5 separate regions of the Homo sapiens genome follow, and regions 2, 3, 4 and 5 are each linked to region 1. Evidence: promoter capture Hi-C in human tissues and cell types (Jung and others, 2019). All regions are on one chromosome and are shown on one strand. Each heading gives the region's core, a stretch centred on a gene start or on the middle of the fragment in contact. The rest is flanking DNA. Distances are from core to core; before and after follow the strand shown. Region 1 holds the start of METAP1 (methionyl aminopeptidase 1). Region 2 overlaps H2AZ1-DT (H2AZ1 divergent transcript). Region 3 has its middle 53 kb from the start of RAP1GDS1. Region 4 overlaps RAP1GDS1 (Rap1 GTPase-GDP dissociation stimulator 1). Region 5 overlaps RAP1GDS1 (Rap1 GTPase-GDP dissociation stimulator 1).

Region 1 (3,259 bases), core at 414-2,913:
TGTGAGCACCACTGCACTCCAGCCTGGTTGACAGGATGAGATGCTGTCTCAAAGAAAAACCAAACGACAAACAAAAAGTTGACATCATAGTAACTGAAGAAATCAGGTAAGTAAATTACTTTATATGGTATGGTGCAGTTTTTATTTAAAAAATATTTTATACATACATACATACTTATTGATTTTTTTCTTGTATACAAAAGTATATGTATGTATGCATGTAAACATTTCTATTACTTGATTTTATTACATCATTTTTACTGCTTATATTGCAAAACTAAGTTTTTTTTTTTTTGAGACATGGTCTTGCTCTGCCGTTTGGGCTGGAGTGCAGTGGCAGGATCATAGCTTACCATATCCTTGACTTCTCAGGTTCAACAGATCCTCCCAGCTCAGCCTCCTCAGTAGCTGGGACTACAGGCGCCTGCCACCATGCCCGGCTAATTTTTTAGTTTTTAGTTTTAGTTTTTGTAGAGACGGGGTTTTGCCATATTTCCACCCTGGTCTCGAACTCCTGGCCTCAAAGAATCCGCTGGCCTTGGTGCCCTGGATGCCCTGGCCTCTCAAAGTGCTGGGATTGATTACAGGCGTCAGCCACCGCTCCTAGCCAAAACAAAGTTCTTAAAAATAAAAGTAGTATGAGCTTTTCTGGTGTATTAAGTACGGAGAAGTTAAAAAAATACAATAACAAAGTTCACAGCCTTTTGTGATCAGTAAATGTTAGTTTTTCGCTCTTCCCTAGTGACAAGGAGGCACTCAAGCATGAGTTACAACACAACCGACCTGGAATACAGCTGAAAAGATTGAAGCAACAGGTTCGCAGGGGAAGGCCTTTACAGCTTCTTTCGACTCTGACATTTCAGGATCAGCACAATTCTCCCCTATTTACTGCTGAAGCAATCAACTGGGATTATACAAAAAAATTATTTGTATTGAATACCTGACAGTTGTGTTACTATTACTAGCACTATCGGTTTTGAAGGGGAGGTGGTGGTGTGTGGAAAAAAAAAGTCTGGCAGGAGGGAGGGCAGATGTGAATCCCAGCCCACCGTCCCGTTGACAGCTCTATGGCTCTCCTTTCTGTGAATGAGCGGTGGTCCTTAGGCCTCAGACCCGACAATGTCAGTGAGAAACAGAACTTAACCCAAGGGACTGTTCTCCAAGGAGCGGCGGGGGAATCCAACGCAGAGGAGCGCAGCGCCCTCTCTAGCCTCCTGCGGGTGTCGGGGATGATCAGGGCTCCTGGGTGTTCGTCAGTGAAGACGACTGTCTTATCTGACTGTAGGCACAGAGAGTGCGCCGCGAGAGGGCGGCTCCTCACCGTCAGGCGCCGGCAGGTCGCGTTCTCTGCTGGCCGACGCCCGAAGGCGCCGAATGGGGGGGCCCTGCCGAGCTCCCTTACAGCCCCAATGTGCGCGCCGCCGGGAGGCTTGGGCACGCAGGCACCGCCGGCGGGGGGCGGGGCGAAGCCGGCGGGGCGGGGCACCAGCTGCGCGCGCGGGGCGGGGGCGGGGCCGGGGCGGGGCGCGCTGCGTGGTCCCGGCCGGCCCTGGCTCCTCCCCCTCCCGCGCCCAGGCCAGCGGCGGGCCCAGCTCCTCCCCCGACTCGGTCTCTCTCCCCTCCCCTCCGCCCGGCAGTTCCTCCCTCCCGCCGCCGCCTCTTCCTCGGTGAGGCGCTCTTCCAGCGGGCAGGCAGCATGGCGGCCGTGGAGACGCGGGTGTGCGAGACAGACGGCTGCAGCAGTGAGGCCAAGCTCCAGTGTCCCACTTGCATCAAGCTGGGCATCCAGGGCTCGTACTTCTGCTCGCAGGTAGGCGCCCGCTGCCCCGCGGATATGCCGCCGCTGCGGGACCCCTCCTCGCTTCTCCCCTGCTGGCTCCTCCCGCCCTTGCGGCGAGTCGGGACGCGCTCCTCCTCTTCCCCCCGGCCGCGTTTCCTCCTCCCCCCACCCGCGTCGCCACCGCCCCCTCCTGCCTCCTGGGGTCCCTGGGTCCTCGGGAACCGCGCTGGGCTCACGCGGGGGCGGGGGCGCCACCCGCCGCGGCCATGTGGGCTGGGGCGGAAGCGGGCTGTGCGGGGTCGCGTGGCCGCGCTAGACCTCCGCGTTCTGGGGCCGGTTCCCCGCGCTGGGGCGGGGGCCGCCAGGTGTGCGGGCTGCCGGAGGCAGGTAGCGGCGCCGGGAAGGAGGGCAGCCCGAGCGTCGCGAGCCTCCACATCCGCAGCACCGGCGGGGCTCGGGTCTGGGCGCTGGAGGCGCCGGGCCGTCCGTCGGGTCCCTGCGGGGTGGGGGGCTGAAGCTACCTGCCGGGCTCTGAGAGATGGGTGGCCCGAGGACCGTCGGAGTCGCAGAGAGGAGGAACGCTAGCTAGCTCCAGCCCCACTTCTTTGTGCTTTACTACCGTGCTTTGACACTTAAGCAACTTTGGGGGTGGGGAAGGGAGAGGTCTGTGTAATTCATTCTTTTCTTTCGGTATATAAAATTATTAATTTACAAAACTGTAAGCTAACGGGATGAGTCACCTGTGACTGAATTTCCCAGAGTGAAAAGGACAGTTCCATTGAGGGTTAGGCGTGAATGCTGTAGTGTATTTTAAGTTTTGTGCAGTAGAGCAAACCCAGCGTTGAATGGGGTCCAGACTGAAGCGTGTGCTCGTGTTTCTGTTTACTGAAGAGTACTAGTGTTGCTGCTGCATTTCGAGACCCAGGATGAGGGCTGGGCGGCAATAGTATGGCTCTTAGTTACAGTCCAGGTTTAGTGAAGAGAGGCACATGAATATTCAAATATTAAATTGGTAGCGTCCTGTGGGGAGGAGAGCCGGAATAAAGAGAAGGCCTGATTGGGGCCCTGCCCTTGCCAGTTATTGTGCGATCTTGAATTAGTAAAGTTACTTAATCTTTCTGAGTTCCAGTGTTACACTGTACAGAGGGGATGATTATAGCTTTCTTTGTAAGTTTCACAAGCTTCTTCTGAGACCCAGATTATCCAAGGAACGTGAAATGCTGTTATAATGTAAAGTCCTTTATTTTTTAAAGGATTCTAGTACGATTTAACTCTGCCATAAATAAAAATATGAATAAGAATGAAGGCAGATATATGAACACAATACAAATAATAAAAGTGTTTTCCAACATAAAACATAAAAACGTAAAGATATAAATAAATACAATCTTTACGTCACAATATTTGTAGATAAGCGATTGCAAAAGGTCTTAGCTGTGTTATACAGTCTTGTTTTTAGATAGGATATGATCCTTGACC
Region 2 (3,259 bases), core at 300-2,799, 970 kb after region 1:
TCCCATTTAAAAAGCCATTATTTATTAATTGATTGATTCTTGAAAAGGCTAAACTTGTCAATGTTTCAACATTTAAAAGGCTAAAAAAAGTGGTATAGAGTGAAAATTCTCTCTCCCACTCCTATCCTTCAGTTGCTCAGCAATGTGTTTTCTCCATAGTTTCCCTGATCACCTGCTTTTGTTTACAAAGCTTTTGTTGCTTCCTCTATCTGAAATGTGCTTCAGATAGCTGTCAATTTTTGCACTTTACTTCTTCAAAATATGGCTCAATACTCTCCTTTAGTGAACATTCCCTGAGCCACCATCTCCAAAATTGATCTCTTATTCCCCTTGATTCTGCATCATTGAATATGGTTTGTACCCTGCTTTCTTTAATATACTTTAAATTGCTAATGCTCCTAAATTACTTTCATATTTTCTGGAATGATTTTAGATTTTTGAATAGCCTACAGATTTACAGTGCCTTGAAAGCAAGAAATGACTTTTATTTTATTTTTCCTACGTAGCAGTCTGGATCTATGCAACTAGTTGGTGCCTAGTATCTTCTGTATCCTCAAAAATTATTAACTGGCATTTCTCAAAATTTGGTGCATATCAGAATCCTGGGGCCGAGAATGGAGGGGAGGTGGAAAGTGGGGAGCTTTTGAAACTCGTGAATGGTAGGATTCACCCCATACCAATTAAATCAGAGTCTCTTGGGAGTGAGATTTGAGCATAAACAGTATTTAAAACCTGCTGGATGACTTCAATGCACAGCTATGTTTTAAGAATCAGTGATCTAACCCACTCCCTGCCCTCAATTTCAGTGATGACCTCATTCCATGAGAATCTGCTCTTCCTACCAGTGTTATACAATTCTCCCTGCATCTGCACCCATCTTCTGCTTTTCCCCCACTACAGCTAAGAAAGAGTTCCTCTGCTTCCCATAGGCCTCCTTCCAGCTGCCACATTGTCTTTGCTCCCTTTCACAGAAACCTTTTCATGGGATTTTTCTTTGCAGGTGGTTGTCACTTTTTCACCTCCAAATCTCTCTTCAACCACTTATATTTGACTTTCATTCCCATCAGGCCTCCCAAATGGTTCTTGTCACTGTTAATTGCCATGTTGCCAAACCCAAGGGTCAGTTTTCTTCCTTCTTTTTACCTCTCAGCAGCATGACCACACTTTCCACCAGATACTGCCATTTCTTGACTTCCAGGATACCATATGGTTGCTTCTCTTCTCCTTTTATTGCTTTCTTTCATTTATTTTCTCTTCACTACCTGACTTCAAGATGGCACTTTCCCAGGGCTTGGTCCTAAGCCCTCCTCTTTCTCCACATATTTCCATGTACAACTTTTAAGTAGAGATGATTTCAGATAGTAGATGACTGAAAATTTTTTACCTTTATAGTTAAGTACAGTTGTCTCTGGTTATCTCTGGAGATTGGTTCTACGAACCCCGGTGGATACCAAAATCATCAGATGCTCAAGTCGCTGATATTAAATGTTGTGGTATTTGCATATAACCTATGCACATACTCCTGTGTACTTTAATCTCTAGATTACTTATAATACCTAATACAATATAAATAGTTGATACACTGTATTGTTTAGGAAATAATGACAGGAAAGACATTCAGTACAAACACAATTTGTTTTCCAAATATTTTTGATCCACTGTTGGTTGAATCCATGGATGTGGAATCCACGGATACAGAGGGTCCACTATTTATTTCACCTTGACAGGTAAGCATTAGAAAAGACTACAACCTGAAAATCAAACTCACATTAAGGTTAGAAAGTGAAGAAGAGTGAGTTCAAATAGCAAATCATATGGCAAATTTCAGAAAATCTGCTTTTTACACATCTCTTTTCTTTTCCTAAATTTCTTCTCAAGTTCACAGCTATCTTCACTCTTTCCAAAAGCCTCTATCTATGGTCAACCATTATATCTTCCCCTGGCCCCTTTATAATTTTTCCCCCAATCATACTCTCCAGCCTCTTGGTTCCATTCTCCCCCCTCTTCATTCATCTCTGGCAGAAGCACATCTTGCTGATGAGCTTCCAGATGCCCTGTATTGAAACTGCATATATTACTGAGAAGTTAGGTTTCACTTAACTGGGAAAGCTTCAAAATAGGGAACAAATACCTTGCAAGGAAGCCGTTGAAAATTTGCTGGATATAGAAGAGATACTCTGGGAAAGAAAGAGGTGTGGTAATAAAACAATATACAAATATTTTAAATAATAAAGTCTGTCTTAGACTTGTTGTCTAAGAATCTAGGATAATTCACATTTAAGAATATTGGTATTCTTTGGGAGCCCAGGAGCCCCAAAAGCACCTGGGTCAAGATCAGAGCTGGCATCTTGATCACCAAGTTAACTTATTTTAGCATTACCAATATATAGTCTCTCTAATTATTAGATTTGCATCTCTAAGATTCTAATATAATGGTCCTGATATAAAACTACTATTTTCTAATAGTTCTGTTAGAATCTTTTTATTTTATTTTATTTATTAAATTTGATTTCATTTCTTAGAGACTGGGTCTCACTGTCACCCAGGCTGGAGTGCAGTGGCACAATCATATCTCACTGCAGCCTTGACCTCCCATGCTCTAGTGATCCTCCCACTTCAGCCTCCTGAGTAGCTGGGACTACAGGTGTGTGCCGCCACACTCGAATAATTTTTTTATTTCTTATTTTTTGTAGAAATGGAGTCCCACTATGTTTCCCAGGCTGGTCTTGAACTCCTGGGCTCAAGTGATCCTCCCGCCTCAGCCTCCCAAATTCCTGGGATTACAGGTGTGAACTACTGTTCCTTGTCCCATAGAATCTTTCTAACTCTGACGTAATAAAATAAAATTTGACCTAACAGAATATCTGCAATAATTCTATTTTTACTTAATAATTCTAGTAGTACCTGCAGGTCATATTTAGATTATATATATTAGATTATAATAAAACTGCAAGCAGTATGTTGTTTTTGTATGACAGGAAATAAAATAATACAAATAACCAATATCTTAATGATTAACCCATTTCTGTTTTTATCCTGGTACCAAATTTTGGCTTTGTTTTTGCCATTTTCAATGGCGTTCTTTAGTATGGGGAGCATTCAGTCATCTCTTTCCAGAATCAACAGACTGTATCACCAGATAAACTGCCAATGAGCCAGATAAATAGGATATAAATCCTCAGTTTCTTTAGAGTAAAAAAAATACTAACTTATACATTTATGTAATGATTTTTAACAAGTCAGCCCTGTTTTATCCTGC
Region 3 (3,259 bases), core at 423-2,922, 790 kb before region 1:
TAGCTGGTGAATACTTGTATAGCCATACTAGTTGCTTATGACTTGTGCTTACTCTTATTGGTCAATGCCCACACCCCTTTTAGTTGTTAAATATTTTAGGTATCGTCACTGCTGGCAGAGTGTAGGCAGACAATAAACCAATAAGAATGTATAGCAGAGTTTCTCAACCTCTGCAGTATTGACATTTAAGAATGGATAATTCTTTGTGTGAGAGGCTGTCCTGTGCATTGTAGGATGTTTAACAGCATCCCTGGTCTCTACCCACTAGATGCCCATGGTAGCAATCACCCTCCCCACTTGTGAAAACCAAACATATTTTTAGATATTGCCAAATACCTCTCTCCCCTGTTGACAACCACTGATATATGGATAACATTTCAGGTAGAGTGTTATGAAGAAGAATAAAGGTGGGTGAGAAGAGACAGAATGAGGGAGGCATAGGCAACTTTCAGTGGGATGGTAAGGTAAGAGCTCTCTGAAAAGTTGGCACCAAGCAGTGAGCTGAAGTGAGTGAGCCACGCTGCTACAGAGGGAAAAGAATTCCAGGCGGAGGGAACATCAAAAGCAAAGAACCTGAGACATGAACATGTCTGACATGCTTGATGAATAGTGAGAAAACCAGTATAGTTGGAGCAGAGGGAAAAGGAGTGGGATTGAAAGATAAGGTCAGAGAGGACGTCAGGAGCCAGTCTTTTAGGGTCTTGTAGAACACAGTAAGAACTATGAACATTACTTTGGATAAAATGGAAAACCATAGGAGGGTTTTGAGAGAAGATGGATGTGGTCTATCTTATTCCTCTATTTTAAAAAAGGAATAAAAATAGCTGAGAATCTTATTAAAAAATAATCAACCAGTTGCAATTAATTCGAAAGACTTTTAAAAATTGATATACCACCTTTCTCACTTAGGACATTAGCAAAGAATTGGAAGTTGAAATACCCAGTCATGGGGAAACTTTCGGGAAACAGGCACATTCCTCTGCATTAATGGATGTAAATTGGTACAATTTCTTTGAAGGACAAATTGTCAATATCTATCTCTCTCTCTATCTCTCTCTCTCTCTCTCTCTCTCTCTCTATCTATCTATCTATCATCTATCATCTATCTAGTTTTTTTGTTGTTATTGACAAGGTCTCACTCCGTCACCAATGCTGGAGTGCAGTAGTGTGATCACGGCTCACTGCAGCCTCAACTTCTCCGGGTTCAGGTGGTTCTCCTACCTCAGCCTCCCAAGTAGCTGGAACTATAGTCATGTGCCACCATGCCTGGCTAATTTTTGTATTTTTTGTAGAGAGAGGGTTTCACTATGTTGCCCAGGCTAGTCTCAAATTCCTGGCCTCAAACCATCCCCCTGACCTTGGCGACCAAAAGTGCTGGCATTAATGGCATCAGCCACCCCAGGCCCAGACAATTTTTTTTTCTTTGAAACAGGGTCTCACTCCAGCTCAGGCTGGAATGCAGTGGTGTGATCATGGCTCACTGCAGCTGCAACCTCCTGGGCTCAAGCAATCCTTCCACCTTAGCCTCCTGAGTAGCTGGGACCATAGGCATGCAACACCATACCTGGCTAATTTTTTATTTTCTGTAGAGACAGGGTCTCACTATGTTGCCTAGGCTGGTCTTGACCTCCTGGGTTTAAGAAATCCTCCCACCTAGGCCTCCCAAGTGTTGAGATTACAGGCATGAGCCACCACACCAGGCCTGTTAGAATTTAAAATTTTAAGTGTTAAAATGGACACAGTAGGCCAGCAGGGCGCAGAGGTTCATGCCTGTAATCCCAGCACTTTGGGAGGCCAAGGTAGGAGGATCATTTGAGCCCAGGAGGTGGAGGTTGCAGTGAGCCGAGATCCAGCCACTGCATTCCAGCCCAGGTGACAGAGCAGGACCCTGTCTTAAAAAAAAAAAAATTGATACAGTAATTACATTTAAAAGGAACTTATACAGATACACTCACACAAATGTGCAAAAAAAAAATATTTATTGCAACATTGTTTGAAAGCAAAAATTGCAATTAGCTCAGTGTTCACTAATATTGAACTGGTTGTAGAAATTACAGCAAATCTGTATAATAGAAATGGTTCAGTAATCAAGAACTTTAAGATAAATCTATATAGGCTGATATGGAATTCTCCAAAAAAAATATTGTTAAAGAAAATAAAGCTTGGTACAAAAGCAGCTAACAGCATGATTCCATTGTTATTTAAAAGAATTTAAAAGGCACATGCATGTTTGCTTTAAGGATATTCAATGTCTTTCTATCTGGTTTCAATTAACTGGTTTGTTCCCTATAATTTTCATTGACCATAATAAAAAATGACTAGTAATGAATGCTCCATTTTGTTTGGATTTTGATTCTCAGGACTATGCTTATTTTGTAGATTTTTACTGGGGAACTTTTCGTGGGTTTTTTTTTGTTTTGTTCTGTTTTTTGTTTTGTTTGTTTGTTGAGGTATTACCTGACTTACATTTACACTTTAATATAACTTCATCATAAATATAATAATTTTTAAAGTAAAAATTCCATATTTCCATGTGGATAGAAAATTCCTGGGAGGATATGTAAGAAACTAGTAACAATGATTTGGAGAGTGGAAGTAGAAGTGAGACGGGGGTGGGGGACTTCACATTTCATTTCATAGCTCTATGTACTTGTTTAATTTTTTATCATGTGCATATTTTCTATAAAATTAATAATTTAAATTAAAACGAGAGAATCTTCCTGAATACCAGTGCCATCATATAAGTGATCCCTACACTAGTGGCCCTGAACTTTTGTCCCCAGGCCTGTCTCCTATTCCTGGCCTAGGATTATCTCTTGAAAAGGATAACAAATTTGGTTTTCTTGGTTTTTATTTTCAGTTCTCTGAGACTCCACTTGCTTTCACTCTGGCTCCTGTTCCTCCTACTTCAGGTAACCATTGCATAATCTAACCCGTAGTCCATCTGTCTGCTTAACTAGCACCCAAACCTGGCCTTCCATAAAAGGGAGTAAGATAAAACTTTCATAAAACTGCCCAATACAGGCAACACTGTCATGCAGGAAATGCTACTGTAATATTTTATGGAAATAGACTTCATTAAGATGCTCAATAACTGCATTACATCCAATTTAGAATTGGTGGTAGTTGTCACGTTTTTGTTTTTGTTTTTGTGTTTGTTTTTGTTTTTGTTTTTGAGACAGGGTCTCTTTCTCTCACCCAGGCTGGAGTACAGTAGTACAAACATAGCTAATTGTAGCCTTGACGTCCTGGGCTCAAG
Region 4 (3,259 bases), core at 238-2,737, 700 kb before region 1:
ACATTAATACCAGTCCCAGAGAGAGGCCATTGTTTCATTTCTAACAGTCAAGCATCGTAGTTGTTTTTCTTAGCACCTACATCTGTGCTTTAAAAATAGATTGTTTTATATGTGGGGAGAGTGGGGAGGGAGAGAGAGGAGAAACAGAGGGGGAGCTTAAAACACTTAACATTTTTTTGGAATCTTATCATATTTTAAAATAATTGTACCTTAAAATAATATGTATGCATAGATAAATTTGGAAGGAACCATTAGAAGTCATCAAAAATCTTTTGAAATTGGGGTAGGATTTTATCTTTGATGTGATAAATAATGCTAGAGATAGAAACTGCACAGTTCTTCATTGACCATTGTGTTGCATTTTATTTATCCTATTTCTAGTCACTAATTTCTGTATTATCACCATTAATAGATCAGTATAGAGTGATTTTCATTTGTTATCTTAATTCTGCTTGGTTGTGCTGTGGTTTTTTCTGTACTTGTTTTTAATTATGCTCTTGTCCTATCCTGAAACTAATTATGTAGCTGACAAAGAATGGAGGGGAACGTATATATTGTTAAGGTTTTAATTGTAAGGTTTCAACACTTATTGATATATGTTTTTTTTATTTTTTAGTAAACCTTGATTAGAAAAATCTAAAATAATTGATTGCAGTACTTTTCATCAAAAAAGCACATTTTAGAGCTAGCTTTTAAAATTATTTTTCAGTAATTATTTTAGATTACAACTGTCATGCTGTTTAATCATAGAGATAACAGGAAGAGATTTGAAACAAGGAGTTCAATAAGAGCATCCAGATAAGGCTCAAAATGGTAAAGAAAAAGGACAGGAAAGGAGAACGTCTAAGCCTGCTATCCATTTTAGTGGACACATGTGGCTATTTAAATTTAATACAAGTAAATAAAATGTAAAAGGAAGTTCCTTAGTCTCACTTCTCAGTAGTTATATTTGGCAGATGACCACTCTCTTGGGGATCACAGATATAAAATATTCCCATGATCACAGAAAATTCTTATGGATAGCACTGGTCTAGAAACTAGGAAGAACCACACGATGACCTGATTTTTTTTTACATGTGCCTGTATAGGCAGCTTTACACAGTAACATAATTAACCTAAGTAAATTGAGTATCTCAGGTATATTTTTTTGAACAGTTGTTTTATTATAACCTTCGTCTGTTTTCAGCAACACTTTTTTTCTCTGTTAGACAGTAAACTTTTAAATAGACCATTTGCTTTAGATACTGAAGGACATGAAGGGTCATATTCTTGGTCATCTGTAGAGGTTGCCCATTTGTCTCCTAGGAAGACTGGAAGACAAAGAGATGAAGTTGAAGGGAAATGAAGAAAAAAGGGAGTAAAAAGTGTATAGCTTTTAAAAGAACAGATTTAAGAAACACTGAGAAGTTCATAATTATTAGATTAAATTAGCTTACATTAGAATAAGCCCATTGCGGACTTATTCACTGTACCTTTTGTTGAAAATGGTCTTGTGAAATTGTGTATCACAAAATGTTAAGGCCACGTAACCACAAGGTATTAAAACAATAAACTCTCACCAATTTAACTAATGATGCCCCAGGAAGGGAACAAAAGGAATGTCTTGTTAACAATCTGAAACAAAATTTATAAATGCCCTCAAGCCTAAGACTACTGACAAAGAAGAATTGGAAAAAGGAGTTCATGCAGATGTTCAGTCTTTGACACCTGTCATTGGATCACTTACTGTATGTTTAGCACTGGGCTGGGGATTATAGCCACTATCTAATCTTTCCTATAGTCCCATGAGGTAGGTATTATTATCACCATTTAAAGGATGAGGTAACAGATTAATAAGCTTATTTGCCTTGCTCTGGAAGAAGCCAGAGTTTGGATTTGAACTCTTGATTTACAAAATAAAAAATTGTAATCTGAATAAAGTGAAGCTTTTTGCTGAGTTCATGTAATGTGAAATCATTCCAAGAAGCTAGGTTTTAACATTGTGTTTTAAATTTTTGTTTTTTCTTTAATAAAAATAGCTCTAAATTTTTATTAAAGTGGATAAGCCTGTTTTTCTTGAACTATAAAGTGATATATGTATTTTATAGGCATTTATTGATACACTTTATAAAGTCAGCATATGCCTTTTTAACAAGAAAAAGTAAAATATATTAGTGAGATGTTAATTTTCTACAGTTCTTCCTTGAATAAGGTGATTGAGCCATTGCTACTTCTGTCCTCCTAAATGTAAAATTATAAAACATTTAACTTAGAAGAATCTGTACTTGCTTTTTAAACAACAACAACAACAACAACAACAACAAAAACACAGAGAGCTTCTCGTTTCATAATTCTTCCTTAGTGTCAGGTGTTTTAACTAAAAATAACAACTGTACCATAATTGCACCTGATCAGGAAAGAAAGATTTCTCCATTCTGTACAAATATAAGATGGTAATGTATGTAATGGAAATATAAACAAAATTTTATTTTACAGTCTATTACCCTGTTACTGGAAAGGTTATCTCTGAAAGGAACAAAATAATGCTTTTGAAATTTTTACACTGTGTGATTTAGTGCATTTGAATTGCATATTACAAATGACTGTAATCTGAAATTAGAATTTTTACTTTGATGTATGGCTTTAGAGTGGTTTTCTTTTTTTACCATTGGCAGTATTTCTCTCTGTAACGTTTATACTATATGTGTCTATCTTAAGAGACAAGAAGATTTGAATACTTACTAGATTTTATGAAAACATTTTGTTTAAGCAAGCATTTTGTGTAAATCTATGATCTAAATTAATATAAAGTCATTCATTCACTCATATAAATACATCAGATCTCAGTTTTAAAATGTTTTTAGTAAATGTGTGAAGGCTACCAGCCAAGAAATCAGCTTCTGTTTATTTTGGTCTCTTTTGATTCAGATTATAGTTAGAAGATTCTCAGTAAATGCTTATTTGATTGTAGTATGGTTACTCTATTTTATGGTTATTTGGAAATGTAAAACAATAGGCCACCTATTTTCATCCCCAAACATTAAGACAGGAATTGTCTTTGGAGAATGTGGCATCTAAATCACCTTGCAAGAGAAACTATTAGTTTAAATTAAAGTCCCAAAGGCAAGAAAAATTAACATTCTATTTGTAATAAAAATTCTATCCATTTTATTCCATTTTGAGGATGAAGACCATTTTGTGTTGCCGGGGGGACCATAAAGTGTGCCATACAGCTTTAAACTCTCTCCCTGAAGAAGTAAGCTGTCTTCCCCTGCCTCGT
Region 5 (3,259 bases), core at 532-3,031, 610 kb before region 1:
GAAAATTCTATTATAACTCTTAAAGAAAGTGGTAAATGATAAGCATTAAACACTAAAGTTACTATTTTACGTAAGCTATGCCATAAGAGAGAAAAGTAGAGGCAATTGAAAGATGCCATCAGGAAAGGAAAAAGTATCTTCTAAAATTATTAACATATGCAGTCTAGGCTTCTTCATCTGACCTATATTTTATATATACATGTATGATATGTGTATATATGATTTCTACAAATACAGCCGATTTTTCTAATATTTTAATTACTCCTCATTATTGAAAAACTAATTTCTCTTTTTTTGTAGTTCCTGAAATCTCTCTGAGATACCTACATGATAATTCTTATATTTATTTGTCGCATGGGCTGATGATAATTAAGCTATGGTTGAAGGGAGGCCATGTATGTAATTTAGGAAGTGTAACACCTGTGGCATATTATTGAAGCATGACAACTGAGTTTAAATATTAAGCTCATTGTTTAAATTCACTTGTTTAAAAAAGGCCTATACTACTTCTCCCCATATTAAAGATTATTTAATGTGTAATTAATCTTAGCTGCTACTTTCAGTCAATAGCAACAATTTCTTAGTTCATAATTAAAAACTAAAAAGCATGTTGGCCTGAGCTGCATGTTTATCCTTATGTTTCAGTATTACAATACTTTATTACGGGTGAAAAAGAGCATTTCCTAGATGTGTTAGATGTTTAGAAAAATGATTTGCTTCACATGAGTGAAGAACTATTTTTAAACTTTACTTACTGTGGTTACAAGCTAGTTAATAATTTATATATTTCCTAAATAGTAAATTATTTTTACCTTACTCTAAGGAAAAAGAACAAAACAATATGTAAAAGGTAAAATTGTATCTTTGCAATTTATTATCTTTTTTAAAGTTTTTCTTCTTTCTCAGAGATCCTTGTTCTGATACTGTCTTTTTTAATGAAACTAATTTTCCATCATACTACCTTACATGTATTTTATTTTTCCTCTATTTATGAAGACATGGGAGATGTACATTTAAGTTAACATCTTTTGAAGCCCAGTTTGTCACTTTTTACTCCAGTGAGTTAAATGAAGTGTGTTGAAGACTTATTGGGCAGCTGAAAAGTACTTAGGCTTTTTTATTCTTTCTTTATTATACTAACTGTTGTTCTTTATTTACTGTTGTTCTCTTTTTTAAAAATTCCTGAATTTTTGCTGTTTGTCCAACAGCTTTCTAGTCAGTTTGCTGAAAAAGGTTGCTTTCATAAAGTTCTACCACAAGTGTTATTTTAAACAAATTGTTTCACTAAAGAATAGAGCAGTTAGTTAGTCTGGTGCCTCTTGCTAATTCAACCTATTAAATTTGACCAATTAGACCAGGTTAGCTTTTAGTGATAATCTTCCTAGACTATTTCTATGATAATGCTGTTACTTAATGAACAGGCTGAGAGCTTGATTTTCAGTAGAGGTGTATCAGATACACATTTTGGTCTAATTCCACATGATCAAGTATTGGCATTTATATTCAGCTTTGGCCATTAGAGAATGAACTTCTGAATGTAAGAAGCTGAAATTTTATCTTAGAAAAATAAAATTATTATAGTCTTTTTGTCAGTAATTTTAGCAGTCTAATACTTAAAATTTGGCATTATATTATTACAGGAATAATACTTTCTCAGCATTGTTAGCTTCTAGATTGCTACTGCGATTATGATAATGCATTTAATATCATAATACCACATAGATGCCCACTTAGTTGAGGGCAGTGAAAGGGCAAAATATGTTTGGAGTTGCTCATTCTTTAGTATGGTTTTCTCATTTTTATTTGCTTTATGTCTGGATTGAAGATTAATCATAGCCGTTATCAAATATTATTTTCAAGATTTTTCTCATTGTGAAAATTTGAAGTGGAAAAATTGGTTTTCTGATTTTGATTTCATCCTTACAAGATGTATATCACCATTAATTATTGGTGCATTTTAATATAATAATATGCATTTACATTTCAACTGATAGAATTTCAACATATAAAGCATATAGGCAAATTTTCTCTTTACATGAAATGCTTACCTATATTTAAAAATAAATATTCAGATAGTAACAAGTCTGAAAGACCAGGTCTTTACTGTAAGTGTTCCTATACTAGTTGAAATATGATGATATGAGGCACATAATCATTGATCATGCACAAATTTTTAGGTTCCAGAAATGATGTTGAAGTAAGCATTGAGCTGTTTGGCCTTTCAAAAGCTGAGGCTAAAATCAGAGGTAAATAATAGGTTTTAGCCAGATATCTGTATTTGCGTGTCTAATTTAGGCCATTTACAAAGTCCATTCAGAGAGGCGCTGAACCCAGAAAAGCATCATGTGTAAATTAACTTTTATGAAGATTATTAATCCTGTTTTTTTAACTATAAGTAAAATCCAGTTAATACTGTACTGCCTATATTGTTTTATTTACTAAAAAATTTTTAAGTCCTACTTGAAAAACTAGAAAGTGAAATGCTTTTGAATATGCAGATGTATCTTGTTAACAGAATTTTTGCCTTGCAAATAACTTCTGTGCAATTTTAAACTGTAAAAACTAAATTACAATAATGCCCCATGGTAACTAGAAAAGTTTTTTTTAAGCTAATATATTCTTTTGTAAAAGAAGGGATTTCTATGTTTTTAAGCATATGTTTGTAAGATACACGTTGGAATATAAATTAATTTGGCATTAGCTTAACTTGCTGTACAAAAATTCAGGCTTAAATTTATACTTACTGTAGATGTGGTCTTTATCTCAGCAGTGCTGTATGAAAGCAGAGACTGAATTGGTTTCTCTTAATAAATGCTGCTTAAGCAACAGCTGGCAGTAGTCCTCTTTAAAAAAAAAAAAGACATTTAACTTAAAAGACCAGTTTTTTTCTGAGATGAAAGCGTAGAGTTTTCTTTAATCAGAATAAACATATCTATAGAATTTTTTTGTAGCAGTATTCATTGTAACAAAAGTTGATCTGTAACAAATAATTAACCTGTAGTAAATATGGGGAAAAATTATCTACTAGATTAAGGCATAATCACTCTAGTTGTCATTATATTGAGAACAGTAAATGAATAAGTTTCTTAAGAATAATAAAATATTTTTACTATCTGTTGATTTTTGCTTTGGCATTTTTTTGTTGTTGCTTCTGTTTTACATCAATCTCACACATATAATTTTGCCATTTATATTTAAAACTTTTACAAAAGGGAAATTTTGCCATGTAGAGACAATTTTTATTTTCAGAACCCAGAAA

What was found. The method cuts DNA at HindIII sites, captures the fragments that hold promoters and counts their contacts. A contact is called where the count stands out against the background at its distance.
Region 2: a fragment that was not itself captured here is called in contact with the fragment with the promoter of METAP1 in region 1 in 1 of the 25 tissues and cell types used here (spleen).
Region 3: a fragment that was not itself captured here is called in contact with the fragment with the promoter of METAP1 in region 1 in 1 of the 25 tissues and cell types used here (hippocampus).
Region 4: a fragment that was not itself captured here is called in contact with the fragment with the promoter of METAP1 in region 1 in 1 of the 25 tissues and cell types used here (hippocampus).
Region 5: a fragment that was not itself captured here is called in contact with the fragment with the promoter of METAP1 in region 1 in 1 of the 25 tissues and cell types used here (dorsolateral prefrontal cortex).

The regions. Positions count from the first base shown.
Region 1 is chr4:98,994,058-98,997,316 of GRCh38, forward strand. It overlaps METAP1 (methionyl aminopeptidase 1), which reads left to right and starts at 1,664. Exons shown (of 11, transcript NM_015143.3): 1 at 1,664-1,810. The coding sequence starts at 1,697. RefSeq lists enhancers at 1,106-1,155, 2,077-2,859 and silencers at 1,396-1,715, 1,876-2,335. The HindIII fragment of the contact is 14,445 bases long and covers 1-3,259 here.
Region 2 is chr4:99,967,715-99,970,973 of GRCh38, forward strand. The region is part of intron 1 of H2AZ1-DT (H2AZ1 divergent transcript); the gene reads left to right. Among named protein-coding and RNA genes, the nearest start is that of H2AZ1-DT, 19 kb to the left of the region's middle. The HindIII fragment of the contact is 4,750 bases long and covers 1-3,259 here.
Region 3 is chr4:98,206,378-98,209,636 of GRCh38, forward strand. No RefSeq gene overlaps it. Among named protein-coding and RNA genes, the nearest start is that of RAP1GDS1, 53 kb to the right of the region's middle. The HindIII fragment of the contact is 5,877 bases long and covers 1-3,259 here.
Region 4 is chr4:98,293,756-98,297,014 of GRCh38, forward strand. The region is part of intron 2 of RAP1GDS1 (Rap1 GTPase-GDP dissociation stimulator 1); the gene reads left to right. Among named protein-coding and RNA genes, the nearest start is that of RAP1GDS1, 34 kb to the left of the region's middle. The HindIII fragment of the contact is 3,026 bases long and covers 1-3,000 here.
Region 5 is chr4:98,383,209-98,386,467 of GRCh38, forward strand. All of the region lies in intron 5 of RAP1GDS1 (Rap1 GTPase-GDP dissociation stimulator 1), which reads left to right. Among named protein-coding and RNA genes, the nearest start is that of RAP1GDS1, 120 kb to the left of the region's middle. The HindIII fragment of the contact is 5,575 bases long and covers 1-3,259 here.